Regions from separate parts of the Homo sapiens genome. Here region 1 is linked to region 2. Evidence: promoter capture Hi-C in human tissues and cell types (Jung and others, 2019). All regions are on one chromosome and are shown on one strand. The core of a region is centred on a gene start or on the middle of the fragment in contact, and the rest is flanking DNA. Distances in the headings are between cores, read along the strand shown. Region 1 overlaps IGSF3 (immunoglobulin superfamily member 3). Region 2 holds the start of IGSF3 (immunoglobulin superfamily member 3).

What was found. Contacts are between HindIII fragments. The study calls those that stand out against the background at their distance.
Region 1: a contact is called between a fragment that was not itself captured here and the fragment with the promoter of IGSF3 in region 2, in 4 of the 25 tissues and cell types used here (bladder, liver, lymphoblastoid cells and 1 more).

Annotation. Positions count from the first base shown.
Region 1 is chr1:116,575,012-116,578,907 of GRCh38, reverse strand. IGSF3 (immunoglobulin superfamily member 3) reads left to right here. Exons shown (of 11, transcript NM_001007237.3): 11 at 1,346-3,896. The coding sequence ends at 1,596. Among named protein-coding and RNA genes, the nearest start is that of CD58, 5.9 kb to the right of the region's middle. The HindIII fragment of the contact is 7,997 bases long and covers 1-3,896 here.
Region 2 is chr1:116,666,483-116,670,346 of GRCh38, reverse strand. IGSF3 (immunoglobulin superfamily member 3) reads left to right here and starts at 2,614. Exons shown (of 11, transcript NM_001007237.3): 1 at 2,614-2,729; 2 at 3,391-3,864. RefSeq lists a silencer at 2,380-2,769. The HindIII fragment of the contact is 6,759 bases long and covers 1-3,864 here.

The sequences.
Region 1 (3,896 bases), core at 209-2,708, 90 kb after region 2:
GTTGGGAGGACCAGCCTAGAAGGGCTGTGATATTAGAGGAGAGCTGAGAGGGGATGGATTTGCAGCTGCCCAGAATGCAGTTTCCATGATCCTGAGGGACTTCCACTATGAACAGAGACTGGGGGAAGTATTGCTGGCCTGAATTATTTGTTGTAACAATGCACTCTTGGTTGGCTTGCCATCAAAATGTGGACTACATTAGACTAAAAATGGTGTTATAGTAGAATTAGCCTAGAATACAGAAAGAAAAAAAAGATTGCTGGAATTTTTAACTTCTTTTTAGTCAAAACATTTTTCAACATCATCTTGATTTGAGTTTTTAAAGTTTGGGCCACTATTTTTTTGCCTTGATCACCCCGTGCTCACATTGTGTTAGAACCATATGAAATTGGAGTTTTGCAGGTCAACAATGGTGGACTATCAGCAGTTTCATACACTTTGGAAATTGAATAACAGGCAGATTAAATGTTCTTAATAATACTGATGAGCAACAGCTATTCAGTAAAAGGGAAAGCAGGCTGCATCATACATAGACCACCCTGTGATCCACTGAATAACCCACTGCCTCAAAGCGAAAACAAAGCAGTCTAGGCAACATTTTACCTGTCCATTGTGGATGTCCCTAATTATTAAGCTTCATCGAGCACAGAGGTCACCCAGCAGCCTTATTTTACAGAGAAAACAGGGGCTCCCAGAGGCTAGGCTCCTGCCAAGGTCTAATGACTTATAGAGCAGCCCTCAACCTGTCTTGGGGCGCCTGGTTTATTCTCTTCCATATCCAGCTATAACTAATACTGTGTTCTTTGTGGCCACGGACACACTGTGGACGTTTGTAAGTGGTCCATAATGACATTTAATTGATAACATTAATCAGGTAAGTGTCATTTCTGGTAAAACTGCTCTCAGAAGCTGGCAGGAAGGGATTGTGTCATAATCCCAGAGAAGGAAGTCTGTAGCAGAACTAAGTGCAAAGGGGCATGTAAAATCCAACCATGCAGGAGGCTCCGACTGAACCAGAGCAGCTTCTTCACCATTCTAGATGCAGTTGAGTTCACAATCAATAAATTATGTTTCATTATGTGGCTTTCCAAGCAGCAATAATGGCTCTCAATGGAAAACAGAAGCATTGCTTTGTTGGAACATACAGCCGTAAATTAGGAGAGGTGTTGCGAGAAAAAGAATATAAGGGTCATCTTCCACCATTAATGGTAGCAGGGGAAAGACAAGGTGGTGTGGGAGTGTCACCGAGGAGCTTCCACTGGGTCAGGTGAGGTCTTCAAAAGGAAATGTGAGCAGTCCAGGTTCTCAGCCCTCATTGTCTTGTCTCTCTCATGATTCTTTTCAGGTCCCACCCTCCAGTCCATCATCTGCTCCAACGACGCACTCTTCTACTTCGTCTTCTTCTACCCTTTCCCCATCTTTGGCATTCTTATCATCACCATCCTTCTGGTGCGTTTCAAGAGCCGGAACTCCAGCAAGAACTCTGATGGGAAGAATGGGGTGCCTCTGCTGTGGATCAAAGAGCCACACCTCAACTACTCCCCTACTTGCCTGGAGCCCCCTGTTCTCAGTATCCATCCAGGGGCCATAGACTAAGCGGGTGATGCCCCAGCGGATGTTGGCCACGGAGGAGCTGAGGCTCTCCCTTTCTCTGTGATTGGACAGTTGACAGCACCCAAACTCTGGGGTGCATGTGTGTGGAAAGTTGTCAGACTTGAAAAGTGTTCCAAGTTCCCAGTCAGTCACAGAGACAGACTGCCTCTCGGTGGCAGTCTTGGTTGGTTAGCTATTTGCGCGCAAATGTTGTGATCCTGCCATTATAGATTTCTTGTTTCTGTTTTTAGTAATGTAGTGAGTAGCTCCAGGTGCCACATCTACTCACAGATTTATCTAGTATTCTCAGATAGATGTTACAGGGCTTCTTATTCTTTGTAATGTACTCTTTTTAAATCCCTTTAGTTTACCCTTTTTGGATTCCTTAATGTGGACGAATTTCTCTTACGTACAACTGACAGCAAAAGGAAGGGCGAACTTTCTAGTGACAAGGAATCTCTTCCAAGACTTTGTTTTTGCACATTTGAAAATGCCACCCATGGATCAAAATATACCCAAACGTTTTTTACTTTCTTAACAAGACTTAAGAATTGTGTGTAGTGTGGGCAAAATTTGTATGTTGTCTTTTCCCTCAGCTGGAGTTATTGGAACCACTTTGTAGTCAAGACGAAAGCACTGAATTTTGCTTCAAAGAACTGTGTATGTACAAGAGAAATCCTGCATAACCCCATTAGGAGTAGATGGTGCCCGGCCTATCTGTCAGGGAGGCAAAAAAGGCTTCATCCCATCCTTGCCAAAAAATAAGAAAACTGTCTTGGAGAATGGGTCAGAAGCCCCAAACGGCACACACTTTCCAAATTAAAGTGGGCAGGGGCTGCTTTTAGCAGCTGCTGACCTGCAGATTTGTCAAAGCCAGTGACTAGAGAAGGAAGGGAGAAAGGCTGGCTGTTGGCTTGCTCTGAGCTGCAAGGATGGTCTCTAACTGATTAACTGTGAGCAGGTGGGCCTGTGTCTTCAGGTGCTTTGCCAAACTCTTAAAAGAAAGTGTCCAGTGAACTTGGAAGTGGGCCCCTGAGCTGAGCACAGGGCCAAAGCAGCCATGGCAGACACCTGACGGAGGGCACGGGGCTGGCTGACACTAAGTTTGGTGGGACAGTGAGGGGTGGGAGGGGGGTTTCCAGGGCCTGGTGTTGGAGAGTGCAGAGAAATATCTACCTCCCTGGAGGTGTGAAGACTAGGTTTTTCTTCTTCCTTCCAATTAGATTTTCCTTAATTATAGTGATGTCTTCCTTATTCATTTTTCTCTCCCTGCCTCTCACTGCCATAAGAATATCAGCCTGGGGGCAGTCCAGACGCAGCCCTTTGTCATCCTTTCTGTTTGCCTAGTCTCAGCAGACTGTGATCACAAGGCATTGTCTGTGGGATTTTTCCTTTCCCTTTCTTGATCTCTCTTGTGGTTCTAGGTTGTTTGGTTGTTCATTGTTATGGTGGCTTTTTATTTTAACGCCCCTTGAGCCCCATGATGGCTGGTGTCACCCTGTTCTTTTACACTGTTGGGCCAGGTGCTGCTTGTCCTTCTTAGGGCATCATCAATTGCAAATATTTCCTTTTGCTCCCTTTATGAAGATGTTCTTATACCCTTGCTTTCCCATATTTTTCTGGCCAAGCATGCCATCTCCTTTACTCTGGGAACTTACATCCTGAATCCCAAGAGGGGGTCACAGTTTGGAAAAAGTCATCAGGGATTCTGGAACTAAGTCTGATAAAAGATTCCAGTGAAGCCCTGTTCTGAGAACGAGCAGACTGCAGGGGAGGCCATGGGATTCCCCAGGCCAGTGTCTGTGCTGATCCTTCAAGGGTCTGCAGGTATGCAGGTGGCCTGGGCTGCTCGGCAGATACTTTGCTGATTCCCAGCTGAGGGGAGCATGGTGGCGATTGCTCAGCCATTTTCTGACAGACACACAGACCTGCCTTTTCTCCCCCAAGTATACCGTACCCTCCTGTGAGACAGTGTGTGCAGGCACCACCACCTTAATCCTGCTGTTGCCTGACATGCTGATTCTCATTTATTATGCTGCATCAACACATTAGAGGTACAGGAGCGGCTCAGTCATGAAAAAAGAAGGTCTTTTGCCCCATTTCTTTATTTCAGAGATGTGGGCTTTCAGTGGGAATTTGCTGACTCCTACTTTATAGGCTGAGTCAATGAGGGAAGATGACTGGCGTTTCCTCTGTCTAAATGGGAGGTTGCCAGAGCGCTGGCTGGGACTAGGATGTGTAACTAAGATTTCAGTTTGAAATCTTAGATTTCAGTTCACGGCGATAAAGAAGTAGGTGCTGCA
Region 2 (3,864 bases), core at 1,365-3,864:
TATTCAGTTCTTCAGAGAATTTCATTGACTCTGCTTTCTAAATGCTTTCAGACTCCACCCATTTCCACAACCTGCATCAGCACCACCCTAGTTTAAGCTGTGATCATCTCTCACCTGCGCAATGGAAAGAACCTCCCATCCAGTGTCCCTTGTCCACCCCTACCATCTGATGCTCTATTCTTACCCAGCAGCCAGAGTGAGCCAAGCTCCTCAGGTTAGAAGGTCCTACTAGATTTGGCCTCTTTGACCTCTCTGATCACATTCCTCCTTCTCCTTCTGTTTTATGCCATTTCAGACACACTAACACACCTTTAATTTTCTGAACATGTTATGGGGCTTTGCACTTGCTGTTCCCTGCACTTGGAATCTTCTTACTCCAGAAATCTCCAGCGCTCACACACTCCCTGTAATCAGGTCTCGCTCAAATGTCACTTCCTCTGAGGGGTCTTTTCTGACCACCTCACCTAGCAAAGAGTCCTTCTTCCCACTGGAACCCCCAAACATACACACTATTTCTTTTCCTTTCTGTTTTTTATTTGTTTGTTTGTTTGTTTTGGAGATACTCTCGCTCTGTTGCCCAGGCTGGACTGCAGTGGTGTGATCTCAGCTCGTTGCAACCTCTGCCTCCCAGGTTCAAGCGATTCTCATGCCTCAGCCTCCCAAGTAGCTGGGACCACAAGTGTGCACCACCACGGCTGGCTAATTTTTGTATTTTTTGTAGAGACAGGGTTTCGCCATGTTGGCCAGGCTGGTCTCGAACTCCTGACATCAAGTGATCCCCCTGCCTTGGCCTCCCAAGGTGCTGGGATTATAGGCATGAGCCACTGTGCCCGCCCACACATTTCTATACTCCACTTTTCTTCAGAACACGTTACATTATATTATATACTTGTTTCATTGTCTGTGTTTCCCACCAGAATGTAAGCTTCATGAGAGCAGAGACTTTTCTTAACACGTAGTAGGTGCTCAATAAATAAATGAAGGAGTCTAGCAAATGGGAACTGAGAGCTGCCAGAGTCACGGGTGTCTCTGGGAAAGAGGTAATAATTAACACACAAGGAAAGATTCCTGGTTGGGCACAGTAGCTCATGCCTGTAATCTCTGCACTTTGGGAGGCTGAGGCGGGCAGATCACCAGGTCAGGAGTTCAACACCAGGCTGCCCAACATGGTGAAACACTGTCTCTACTAAAAGTACAAAAATTATCCGGGTGTGGTGGTGCACGCCTGTAGTCCCAGTGACTCAGGAGGCTGAGGCAGGAGAATCACTTGAACCCGGGAGGTGGAGGTTGCAGTGAGACAAGATTACACCACTGCATTCCAGCCTGGGTCACAGAGTGAGAACCTGTCTCTTAAAATAAAATGAAAAATAAAACGTATATCTGATAACCATAGTCCCTTACTCAACACCTTCAGTGGCTTCCCAATGGTCCCAACCCCTTAACACACCATACAATGCCCTCTAGGTTCTGGCACTCGATTTCTTCTCAGCTCATTTCTTGTCACTTCTCTCCTACAGTCAAGTTTGGGCCCAGCAGACTGTCCTGGTCCTCTAACTGGGCTCCTTTCTGGGCCTGCAGAGGTGCTGTTTCTTCAGTCTGCGATTCCTTACCTCCCCTCTGTCTCTTCCTCTGCTGCTGCCTTCTGTTCTTTGGCATTCAACCGAGTTTTCCTTTCCTCTGAGAAGCCTGGGACCTACCCCGACCAAAGCTCCCTCCTCCTTGCCCCTCCCCCAATAACACAGGGTTGGGGTCTCTGCATTTGCTTCCTCAACACTGTACTTTTCTTGTCATGTCTATTTTATGGTCTGTGTCCCCACTAGACTGCAAGTTGCATGAGGGCAGGGCGGTCTATTCTGCTTTGGTCGCCTCGTGACGGTGTCTACCCAGCAAGTTGTGTGTGTTGGGTAAGTAGTGAGAAAACGAAAAAGCACTTGCTTTACAGGGCGGTTGGTCATAAAATAATAATAGCTTATATTTACTGACCACTTGTGATGTATCAGGCACCATTCTAAATGCTTTACAAGTATGTCACAGATTTCTCCCATAACCCTCTTAAGTAAGGGTTATTTCCTCCACATAGCAGATGGGGAAATTGAGGCACAGAGAGGTTAAGTAACTTGCCAAGGGCCACAGCGAGGAAGTGGAGGAACCGGCGTTAGAACCCAGGCTGTTTCCAGAGTCCAAATTCTATCCAAGAGTGAAGTGCAATATGGGGTTCCACTTCGTGAACAGATTCAAGTCTCCAAAGGGCTTTGTTTTTGTTTCCAGGAGGAAGGACGAGCTTCTGTGCCGCCGGCTTCCCAGGTTATGGGTGGCCAGCTGGGCTTTGGGAAGGGCCTGTACATCTCGCCGGCGGCCCCGGAGTCTGGGTGTGAAGCCCTGATTAACTTGCCGGGCTGCTCGGCCCACACGCCAGCCCTGCCCAGGTCCTCCGGTGCCCCGGGCCACCCTCATGCCCCCGCCAGGCCCGGGGCCGGGACTCGCGTCTCCAGGGGCGGGGCCGGGGGCGGGGCCGGGCCTCTCTTCGAGGCCGCCGCCCTGGCCCCGCGCTCGCCTCGCCGAGTGCGGCGGGCCGGGCTGGAGCTGGAGGGGCGGGGACTCGGGAGGGGCCGCAGCGCGGCTGCTGGTGCCGTTGCGGGAGAAGAGGAAGCGGCGCGTCCCCTGAGGCGTGCGCCTGGATGGACTGAAGGACGGTCCGACGCGCGCGGAGGGAGAGGGCCAGGGGCGAGGTCAGGCTCGGCGGGGGCGCGGGCGGCGCCCGGAGGGGGCCCCGGGGAGGGAGGCGGGGAGGCGTGGAGCGGGGAGCGGGGAGCGGGGAGTGGGGAGCGGGCCCGCGCCGGCTGAGCTCCGGGTCGGGCCCGAGACCCCTCCCCTGGCTGGGCGGGCGCGCTGCGAGCGCGCTCCGGCAGCTGAAAGCGGAGCTCCGGACTCCCTTCTTCCCCGGTTTCTTTTCTTTCCAATCAGCGAGATATAAACACCCTGCAAGGTAAAACAATAGCGGGGCCACCTGGGACGCGTCGCGCGCAGAGCTCCCACGGTTGGGGCGGGGGCCGGGAGTCGCGGCCCCACCGCGGAGCCCCTTCCCGATTTGCCCTGGCGGAGGGTGGGGCTACCTGCGGCGCCCGGGCTCGGTAGGAGGTGACGGGAATTCCCAGGAGTGAAGCATTTGGTGGAAGTATTTCAGGAACAATCGGGCTTCCCACTGTTGCCCTGCTCTGGGCAGGGAAACTGAGGCGGAGGGAAAGACAGAGACTTGCCCAAGGTCAGAATGCAGAGGTTGACTGTCCTGGTCCAGGAACCGGACCCAGGTGTCCGGACCAGCTCAGCGCTCAGCCCCAGTGGGTTTTGCAGCTTTGCCTTTGATAAAAATCTCTGTTGTGTTTGTTTTAGAAATCTGCTCGCGCTGGGGTACCGCTTCAGGGCTGCCGAACGCCAACTTGCTTCGTGTGCCCTAGGCAGGCGTGGGGCAGGTGGCGCCTCCGTGACCTACCACCATGGATGGAAACGGACTTTTTGGTGAAGAAACCCAAACGGTTGATGCCAGGCAGGGTGATTTGGCCGTCAAAGGTTTTGACGAAACCTGCCCTGTTCTCTCTGGGGAATCCGAATGAGGGAGATCACAGACACCTTCACTGAGAAGCCAAGGACATTTCTGTATAATCAGTGGATGAAAGGATTTTCTCAGACCCTTTTTTCCGTGCTTCTGGAGGATTAATCCACTACAGTCTGCAATTTCAGTGGAAACTGCAAGGCACACGATGTGGCAGGAGCCGGGAGCGACTTCCGAATTGTTGTGGACCCTTCCTGTAGCATAGGGGAGTTTTCACACTTGCCTCCACTCCTCCCCTTCCCCCCAACTCCCTC